3 separate regions of the Homo sapiens genome follow, and regions 2 and 3 are each linked to region 1. Evidence: promoter capture Hi-C in 16 types of primary human blood cells and fetal thymus (Javierre and others, 2016). All regions are on one chromosome and are shown on one strand. Each heading gives the region's core, a stretch centred on a gene start or on the middle of the fragment in contact. The rest is flanking DNA. Distances are from core to core; before and after follow the strand shown. Region 1 holds the start of GCM1 (glial cells missing transcription factor 1). Region 2 has its middle 35 kb from the start of GCLC-AS1. Region 3 has its middle 27 kb from the start of ELOVL5.

Evidence for each region. The method cuts DNA at HindIII sites, captures the fragments that hold promoters and counts their contacts. A CHiCAGO score of 5 or more calls a contact.
Region 2: a fragment that was not itself captured here is called in contact with the fragment with the promoter of GCM1 in region 1 in 1 of 17 cell types (neutrophils); the score reaches 6.0 in neutrophils.
Region 3: a fragment that was not itself captured here is called in contact with the fragment with the promoter of GCM1 in region 1 in 1 of 17 cell types (neutrophils); the score reaches 5.5 in neutrophils.

The regions. Positions count from the first base shown.
Region 1 is chr6:53,147,244-53,150,230 of GRCh38, forward strand. GCM1 (glial cells missing transcription factor 1) reads right to left here and starts at 1,598. Exons shown (of 6, transcript NM_003643.4): 1 at 1,511-1,598. It also overlaps the pseudogene LOC124901513. The HindIII fragment of the contact is 12,096 bases long and covers 140-2,987 here.
Region 2 is chr6:53,395,269-53,398,255 of GRCh38, forward strand. No RefSeq gene overlaps it. Among named protein-coding and RNA genes, the nearest start is that of GCLC-AS1, 35 kb to the right of the region's middle. The HindIII fragment of the contact is 5,160 bases long and covers 1-2,987 here.
Region 3 is chr6:53,374,752-53,377,738 of GRCh38, forward strand. No RefSeq gene overlaps it. Among named protein-coding and RNA genes, the nearest start is that of ELOVL5, 27 kb to the left of the region's middle. The HindIII fragment of the contact is 7,566 bases long and covers 1-2,987 here.

The sequences.
Region 1 (2,987 bases), core at 348-2,847:
GTTAGTACGATATGAAGTGAAACATGTTCACATGTATAACATTTCATTTATTGGTACTCTTATAAAAACAAGAGACATAATGATGTTATGTAGAGCTATTTAATAGCGAACTCAAACTATAAGGTAGATTAATAGTCTAAGCTTTGGCGAGACCCATGAACTCTTTTCTTTAGTTTTTATTGTTTTTTTTTTTTTTTTTTTTTTAATGGAGTCTTACTCTTATCACCCAGGCTGGAGTGCAGTGGCGCAATCTCAGCTCACCATAGCCTCCACCTCTGGGGCTCCAGTGATTCTTTTACCTCAGCCTCCCAAGTAGCTGGGATTACAGGCACGCACCACCACACCCAGCTAATTTTTGTATTTTCAGTAGAGATGGGGTTTCACCATGTTGACCAGGCCGGTCTTGAACTCCTTTCCTCAGGTGATCCATACGTCTCTGTCTCCCAAAGTGCTGGGATTACAGGCATGAGCCACTGTGCCCGGCCTGTTCTTTAGTTATTTAGTGTTATATAATCCTAATACTTGTCAATCACTGAACTCTACCAAGGGAAAGTGTATGTATATAAAAGACCGTTGACCTGAACATAAGAATGAAGTTCCTTTTTTCTTTTTTGTGTGTGCTCTAGATGTCCAGAGAAATTTCTCTAGTAACAAACTATAGAAATGATCCCTGAAAGTATAGTCTTTATAAATAAAGTTCTTGACCATTAAATGACAAGCTAATCAGAGTCTCTTCCTGTCTGTTCCACATACCCATACTGAGCTACAACCTAGTGGTTGCAGAGCACGAAGTTTCTGTTCCCCAACTGAATGTTGATTTTCAAGACTAAATCCTCATGGATTTTAAGTAAAATTCTATGTTTAGGAAAGAAACATTGTGTTACTGAAGAAATGATGCCGCAAATTGACTCTAATTCAAAGGACTTAAATAACAGGTATAGAAGATGCAGATACCAAGCAGCAGTTCCGTGTACTTACCCTGAACAGTAACGATATTGTCTCTGATGGTGCAAATTTTGTTATAACTAATTGGAATAGATCTACTTTTTAAAAACCTTGGCAAATAAGATTCATATTTTCAAAAATCAAAAACATTGTTATAAAGCCTAGGCAATATAGACATAATTATTTTGTTTTTAAATTAAGGGAAGAATAATAAAGAAAATTTTATTACAGAACAACTATGTTACATTTTAGATTTTTCTCTCGATATTAACATTTGCTAAGCGAATGAGCATTAATTTAATATTTCCCTAAAAGTTAAGAACAAAACATAGAAAAGAAGAAAAAACCATTTTACAGCCCTTAAGTAAACTCTGTTTTCCTCTTCTAGGATTGAAAAACTACACTTGTCAAGACTCCTTTTTTTAAAGCAACTTGCGCAAAGTATATTCAATTTTCATCATTTCTACAGAAAAATGAACTAGAACAAATGAAACCCTGTAGGAATAGAGTGGTCGTTGCCACATCCCTTACATTTGCCTCTCCACGGGATTTCTGGCTTTCTTACCTTCTAACTTCTTACGGAGAAGCAGACAGCACTGTGTCGTGAAAATCTTACTGCTGGTTCAAGTCCCAGCAGGCTCTGGTCATTTTCTGAGCAGACGCTGTTCCCTATTCCAGGTCAGGGTACACTATGCTAATGAGTTCTGGCAATGGTCCAATCAAAATCTAGATGCTCTAGGCTCTGGATAGGTAAGAGCAGCCTGGGAGTCACTTAACCAGCCTGATTCTTCCCAGAATGCCAGCAATGTGATGAATATTCTATGATGTGTCTCTGAACTTCCCCCTCCCTTTATGTTATGAGGACATTTGAACTAAAATGGACATTGAAAAGAACCTCATAAGGAAGTACAGATGTTTTTCTTCTTGTGATGTTACAGGTTGGGCCCCAGGCAGACGATTCACAGTAGGTCCTAATTCTCCCACTATTTACCCGGCAGGTAATAGTTCTCTCTCATGTGTGCAAGAGAGAGAAGACAGACAGACAGAGATAGAGAGATATTATGGTGAGGAAATTTACTGGAATAGACAGTGGATAGCCAACATCCTCTATACCAGAAATACTGAAATGCTATCTTAACCCTAGCAATAATGTCCCACTAATTCTAAGTGTTCTGATCCCCTAAAAATATACAATTCTTGGCCGGGCGTGGTGGCTCACACCTGTAATCCTAGCACTTTGGGAGGCCGATGTGGGCGGATCACAAGGTTGGGAGTTCAAAACCAGCCTGGCCAAGATGGTGAAACCCCGTCTCTACTAGAAATACAAAAATTAGCCAGGTGTGGTGGCGAGCGCCTGTAATCCCAGCTATTTGGGAGACTGAGGCAGAGAATTGCTTGAACCCGGGAAGCGGAGGTTGCGTGAGCTGAGATTGCGTCACTGCAGTCAAGCCTGGGTGACAGAGCGAGGCTCCATCTCAAAAAAACAAAAACAAAACAAAACAAAACAACAAAAAAAAACGAACAAACAAAAACCAATTATTTCTTCTAGAGATACCCTCAGTGCTATTCTTCCTTTTAGAGACATCCGCAGTACAGCCTAAATCAGTTCAGTTCATATGTTTTGTTCTAGGTAGTCTGCCAGGCCTTGGCAACACAAGAGAGAATGAAAGCCATTAAGAAGTTCATTCTAGTAGAAAAGATGATTAAAGCTACTAAATAAGGCCGATTTAATTTGATGTATAGAATAAAAGTAATATAAATGAGAAGGCTATTAAGCTGGAGGGAGGAGAACCAAAGGAAACCCACCAAAATAATGCTCGATGAGCCTTTTGAAGGACAAATAGATATTTATCAAGGCGTGAAGGACTGGAAGAGGGTGTTTCGGGGAGTGACAATATCCTGGACAACATGACGAGGGATCAGTACCTGTCAGGAAGGTCCAGACTTTCAAGGATGAGGCTTAGGAGGCAGAGATGAGAAGGCGAGAAGGCAAAAGGCTTGGAAAGCCTCATAGTTGCATTCGGCGGCCCCTAATAGATTTC
Region 2 (2,987 bases), core at 343-2,842, 250 kb after region 1:
TATTCCGCTTTTCTATTAAAAAAGGGAATTGCTACTCAATTCCTAAGTCTAAATACTGTTTAAGCAGCCCTTGTGAAACCAGTATGAAGTATTTCTTGGGTCCCAGCTGTTTGCTGTTAGAATTACCAAATGGTAGACCTAGATATGGGACCCAGTAGGTGATCTAATCCATCCTTTTATAGATGCTATGACAATTTAGGCTCAGCACAATAGTGATGGTTGCAGAAACGAGGGTAGGGAAGAATAAAAGTATTTAACTTCTCAAGAAATTGACAACCTAGATGGAAAGAGAAGATTAAGACACTTGAGAAAATGATAATTTGAGGCCACATATCTCTGTGTCGAATTGTGTGTGTGACTCTATTTCTACCTTCAAAAATTTTATAATCTTGTAAAATACTATTTAAACAAAGGATATATTTACAAAGTTAAATAAAGACAGAAGCAATAAAAATTACTATAAAGGGAGAATTGCAAAGCCAAGGGATTTGGGAACAGACCAGAGGAATCTCATTTTGTCTGGAGGACTTGAGATGGTTTCATGGAGGAAGGGACATTTAAGCTGGTGTCGAGGAGTCTGTAAATAGTGCTGGTTAGAGGTAGGGGTGTGAGGATGAAGGCGTTAAAGGCAGAGGGAACTATGAAAGTAAAGGCATGGCCAATGAAAATATTTGGCATTTTTGAAAAATGGCAACTGTCCTGCACCTAGAAGACAGGGGGTGAGGGATATAGGGGATGTGAAAGGATGAGGAGGGCTGGCCAGAGAGGCAAGGAGGTGTTGGGCCAGAGTGTAACTGTGCTGATGGTTTGGACTGTATCAGCTGAGTAACAGGGAGACACTGAAGGTGTTTTATTAGGGATGTGACAAGATCAGATCTGTGTCTTAGATGATTCTGACAGCAAGGTGAATGACATATTGGGATGGAGTGGGAGGACAGCTAGAAAGAGTGAAATGCTTAGGAAACTTCTGCAGTTGATGGTTACAGAGTGAGCTAGTGAAGATCTAAATTAGAGAGCTCCCTGAAAATGAAGAGATGGTTGTAGAGATAATTCAGAAGTAAACTGATTGGAAGAACTTGGGGACTAGTGAAAGTGCTAGGAATGTTTTCAAGTAAGATGAGTACTAACTATGCCATCAGGTCACAAGAATCCCTAACACATTTCTAGGACCCCAAAACAAAAGCTGCACTTTGAAATGCCCAGATCTGCTAATTCATTTTTTCCTGAACTCCCTTGTCCTCATCCCCTGGCTCCCTTCTCAGAATTTACTCTGAAAAGTCTCTGCCTGAATCCGAAAGGCCTTTCCCAGTTTGCACATAATCCTCCAGTGGACTGGGCAAAGACTTTTCATGGCCATGTTGGGAAAGAGGCCGTTGCAGTTTAGGATGGCAATCCTTAAGGGATGTTCTGGCATTCCCTGGGTTACAGACTTTCTCACAGCCTTGGGTGTGCTCCCACTATTCCCTCTTTTCTTTATAGCTGTCACCCTGTCACTCTCACTAAACTTGTCTGCTGCTCAAACCATACCTATGCACACCATTGGTTTCCATTGCTGATAAGGCTGAGACTAGTTGGATGTGACCTTTTGCTCTTTTCTAAACTGTATGTGCCCTCTTGTTGTTTTCTCAAAATTTCTCCTTTCCAAAAGACTTTCAAAATCTCTTGCCTACCTCTTGTTTGTATGCTGTAGTAGGTGTTTATATTTACTGTATGTGTGCCCTGTGATTTGATTGTAAGCCTCTTGCAGGCTCCGCTCTGCTCAATTCCTTTTTGGTGACTACTAAATGTGTCAAAGATAAACAAAGCTAAATACTAGTTAAAGTGGTAAAGACAGATTTTAATCAGTAATATACTATTGCAATAGGAATAACAGTACAGTGTGAATTGAACTGAACTTTGATTTGTCCAGAGGTGACTGGGTAATTTAAATGGAGAATAAGGAAATAGGGAGTGAGTGAGCAGGGGGTCAGTAGAATGTGGGAAGTGGAGAAACTTACAAAAAGCAGGAAAGGGAGGTTGTCCACGTGAAATTCATCTGGGTTTTCTAACTGGTGCTTACTGAAGTTAGGTCCCTACCCTCCCACAATGACTGGTGGACAGAGGCCCTATCTTCAGGTGTTGACTGGAACAAACAGTAGATTTTTCGCAAATCTTGAGTTTTCTCAGCAGGCACTTTAAGGAAAGCTGGAGCTGTTAGAAGCTATGTTAGTGTTTGTTCAAGTCTTTATAGGTCAAAGTTGGGCCTTAGTCAAGAGGAAGGCTCAAAGGATCCTGGCTCAAGTTTGAGCAAGAAGAGAATCCATGCCACAGTGGGTTATGAAAATCAAGAACAACTGGGAAAATATCCACTGTGGTCTCAATAGAAGATCCTGATAAAAGGAAAGGAACATTACAAGGAAACGAGTTAAGGAATACTTTTAAATACTCTGCCCACTGACAAGGCTGCTAAATTCCATCCACCAAAAACTAGGTGCACCTTCCATACTATATGCTGCTAAAATCTAAACAAAAAACTATGTACCTTATACATATGTGGTCTCTCAGGATAAACAAAAATTGATGTTGTACATTGAATTTTTGTTTAAATATCTTGTACATTAAATTAACTGGCTCCTAATGAAGCATAGAAGTAGTGATTCAGATTGACTTGTCATTTAATACATTGTTTCCTTAGAATGAAAAAAAGAGACTGTTTCTTCCAAATATTTAGCTTTATCATTTAAAAATAGTTATATAATAGTCCATTAGCCTTTATTATTTGCACTTTGTAAATGTAGTAGGTTCCCTTTTGATTTTCTGCCTCTATTTGAAATTGGTCATTTGACTTATTTACTTGGTATTCTGGTTGGCTGTTATTTATGACTAGTGACATAGTGACCCTCTTTTCTCATACGATGTTCATCGTTAACTCTTTCCATGGTCCAAAAGGCCAAAAGAGGAGGTAGATAAGTATGGGATAAACTTCAAGGCTTAATGTACTTTTTAAT
Region 3 (2,987 bases), core at 166-2,665, 230 kb after region 1:
TGAGCTTCATGTAAAATTTTTGAAATTTTAGGGAGCTATCAAGGCAAAGACATAGAGTGGTGAAAGTGTGTAAAATGTTCGGAGCTGGTAAATGAACCACGTGGCCAGAGTGTAGGGCTCATAGAGCCTTTAGTTGGAGATGAGGTTGGAGAGTTAGCTTGACACCACAGTAGAGGGTCTTGGAAGAAGCCATTTAGATTTTGGGTAACTGAGAGTGTTTTGTGGTTTTTGATAAAGAAAACAAATACGAACTTACCTGTGTTTAGGAAGGTTACTGTGGCAGGGGTGAGAAGGATGCACCAGGTAGGGCAAAACAAATTAGGAGGGTTTTACACAAGCGTGTTATGAGATAATGGAGTTATAGCAAGACAATAGGAAGGACAGGAGAGATGAGAGACTGCAGAAGTAGAAACGACATGAGTTCATGATGGCTGATGGGCTAGAGGAGAAAATTCTTGAAGGTGATAGAGAAGTTGTTGATGATAGAGAGGTTGTCGATGACATCAACCATTAAAAATGTAAGGCAATGAGGAGGTTTTTGATTGATGGATGTGAGTGATACTATAAATGCAATTTGGATATCTTGTACCAACTATCCAGGACAGGATAATTTACATCATTTATATCAAGTAATTCAATTCAACTCAACACATATTTCTGGTGTCCTTACCACCTGCTAAGTGGTAGAAATGATTTAAGTATGAGAAGAGAAATCCTGCTGTAAATGGCCTTCGGTATAATGAAGGAAGTAAATATAAGCATGAACAATAACAAAAGGTGAAATACCGTATGATATGTTATGAGAGGTATAAGAGCCATTGAGACCTGAAGAAGGAAAAGAATATAGTTATTTAGGGGCAAGCTGTAATGCTTAGAACAGGATAGGATAGAAAATACATTTTTTAAAATTGAAAAGCAATATTATCAATAAACATATAATAAATATTTTTTAAAAAAATCTATTAAAATATCAAATTCAGAGAAATCAAATAAAAGTGGACTCAGTGTGCAACCAAATGTAATGGATATACTGTGATAATCTTAGTGAATTCCTTCTAAGGGGCTGGTACAAGATGTGCAAGTGAAAATCTATGCCTATAAACAGCTAAGAAAAAGAGATAGGCAAAGATGATTTGGGATATTTTAACTTACTGTAGATTATCATTATAGACTTGAGCTCTACACACTTTGACAATCTGTTGATTCTATGCCTGAACACTTTGAAATACCACAGCCTAGGATTTTGATGGGCTGGTCAGTTCCCAGGCAACTTGGCTAATGAGAGCAACTTCTGTGGCACTGCAGTAGACCTTGTAAGCATAAGCAGCTGGACAAACCTCTTTGTGAGATTGTGAAACTCATGATTTTTTCAGCACTACTTTCCTGAGTTGATTTGATAATAACTGTTCTTCCAAACCATCAGTAGTAAGTTCTTTTAGTTAAGTGATAAATCATAGCCAGATTGTACTGCAAACTGGTTGATGTTTAACTTCTTCAGCATTCATAGATGTCTCTGAAAATTCATGTTTGGTTAGGTCCAGTATAGCATAATTTATTTTTCCTTAAAATTTCCAACCATTGCCTCAAAAGAGACAAACACTTTGGCCTGAGCATCAAGTATCATATTCGCCCGTTTTTTCTGACCAGGAAAATGTTTCAATCTATGTGTCTTCACTTCTCATTCATTTTTTTAAGTTTCCCATTTTCTCTGCATAAGTAGTTGCTTCCTGTCTTCCAGCTGGGCAAAAATTTCTAGTATCAGAAGTTAGGAGTATTGTGCATGATTATATTGGCTCTTTTGCTTTGTTGTAAACAATACACTTAGTTTTATCATACTATTTGTGAAGTTTTATTGAATAATTGTGAGGCAGGTTTCCAAAGGCACATTGATTATTGACTGCAGATTGAGATAGATCAGGAGGTTCAGTTCTGTGTCCTCTTAATAGAGTTGATAAATCATCATTTTCAATTGGAATGACATCTGACCACCAAACAGGAACACCTTGTACTCTCTTGCCTTTTGTCTCAGGATTAGGAGGGCAATTGGAACCACCAGCCAAAGCAGACGTCTCAGCATCTCTTAGCCTTTGCCCCATTCCAGACAGGATGCTAGAGGTAGACTCAGCTAAGAATTATTATCTGGTCTCCTTAGCAGAGGGTGTTGATTTTAAGTACCTTGGTTTTTTTTTGGAAACAGAGTTTTGCTCTGACGCCCAGGCAGGAGTGAAGTGGCGTGATCTTGGCTCACTGCAACCTCTGCCTCCTGGGTTCAAGAGGTTCTTATTCCACAGCCTCCTGAGTAGCTGGGACTACAGGCACGGGTCACCACACCTAGCAATTTTAAGTATACCTTAAAGTATGCTCTGATTCCAGATGTTTGCACTGAGAGTCTGTTAGTTTTTTTAAAAACCTATTTTTTTGTGTTTCTGTTTTATGAAAGTAATACGGCTTGTAGAAAATTTGAAAATACCAAGTTTGAAGAAAATAGCCCATCATATCACAACTCACTCACTGTTAATGTCTTATTGCCATCTTGTCTTTGTAAAACACAATTTATAGATACATCTTAGTTATTATACATATATAAACATTATATATGTATATTCCTAGTTTTTTACTTTAATTTTGCTAGCAAATTTTGTGTGTTTTATGTTTGAACAACAAATCACTTTGCGCTCTAGTAACCTCTGGACTTGTCTTGTTTCTCTCTGTTACACATTTACTTGACAAAAAGTACCTTTGTGTCAGGTCAGCATGGGACCTTTGGTTATATTTCATTTATACTGCAGATGTCCAGGAAGGGGGATTATACCATGTTTCCAGTATGTACTAGGTTAGAATATCCTAGGGGATATGTTTTCATTTTAAGAGCCTAATGTATAGTCTGATTACTGTTACCCAAGATAAGATAGAAAGTAGCAATTCTAATTTGTGCCAGAGGCTGTGAGTTTCTTAAAAGACCTGAACCTGATCTGGGGTCATTCCAT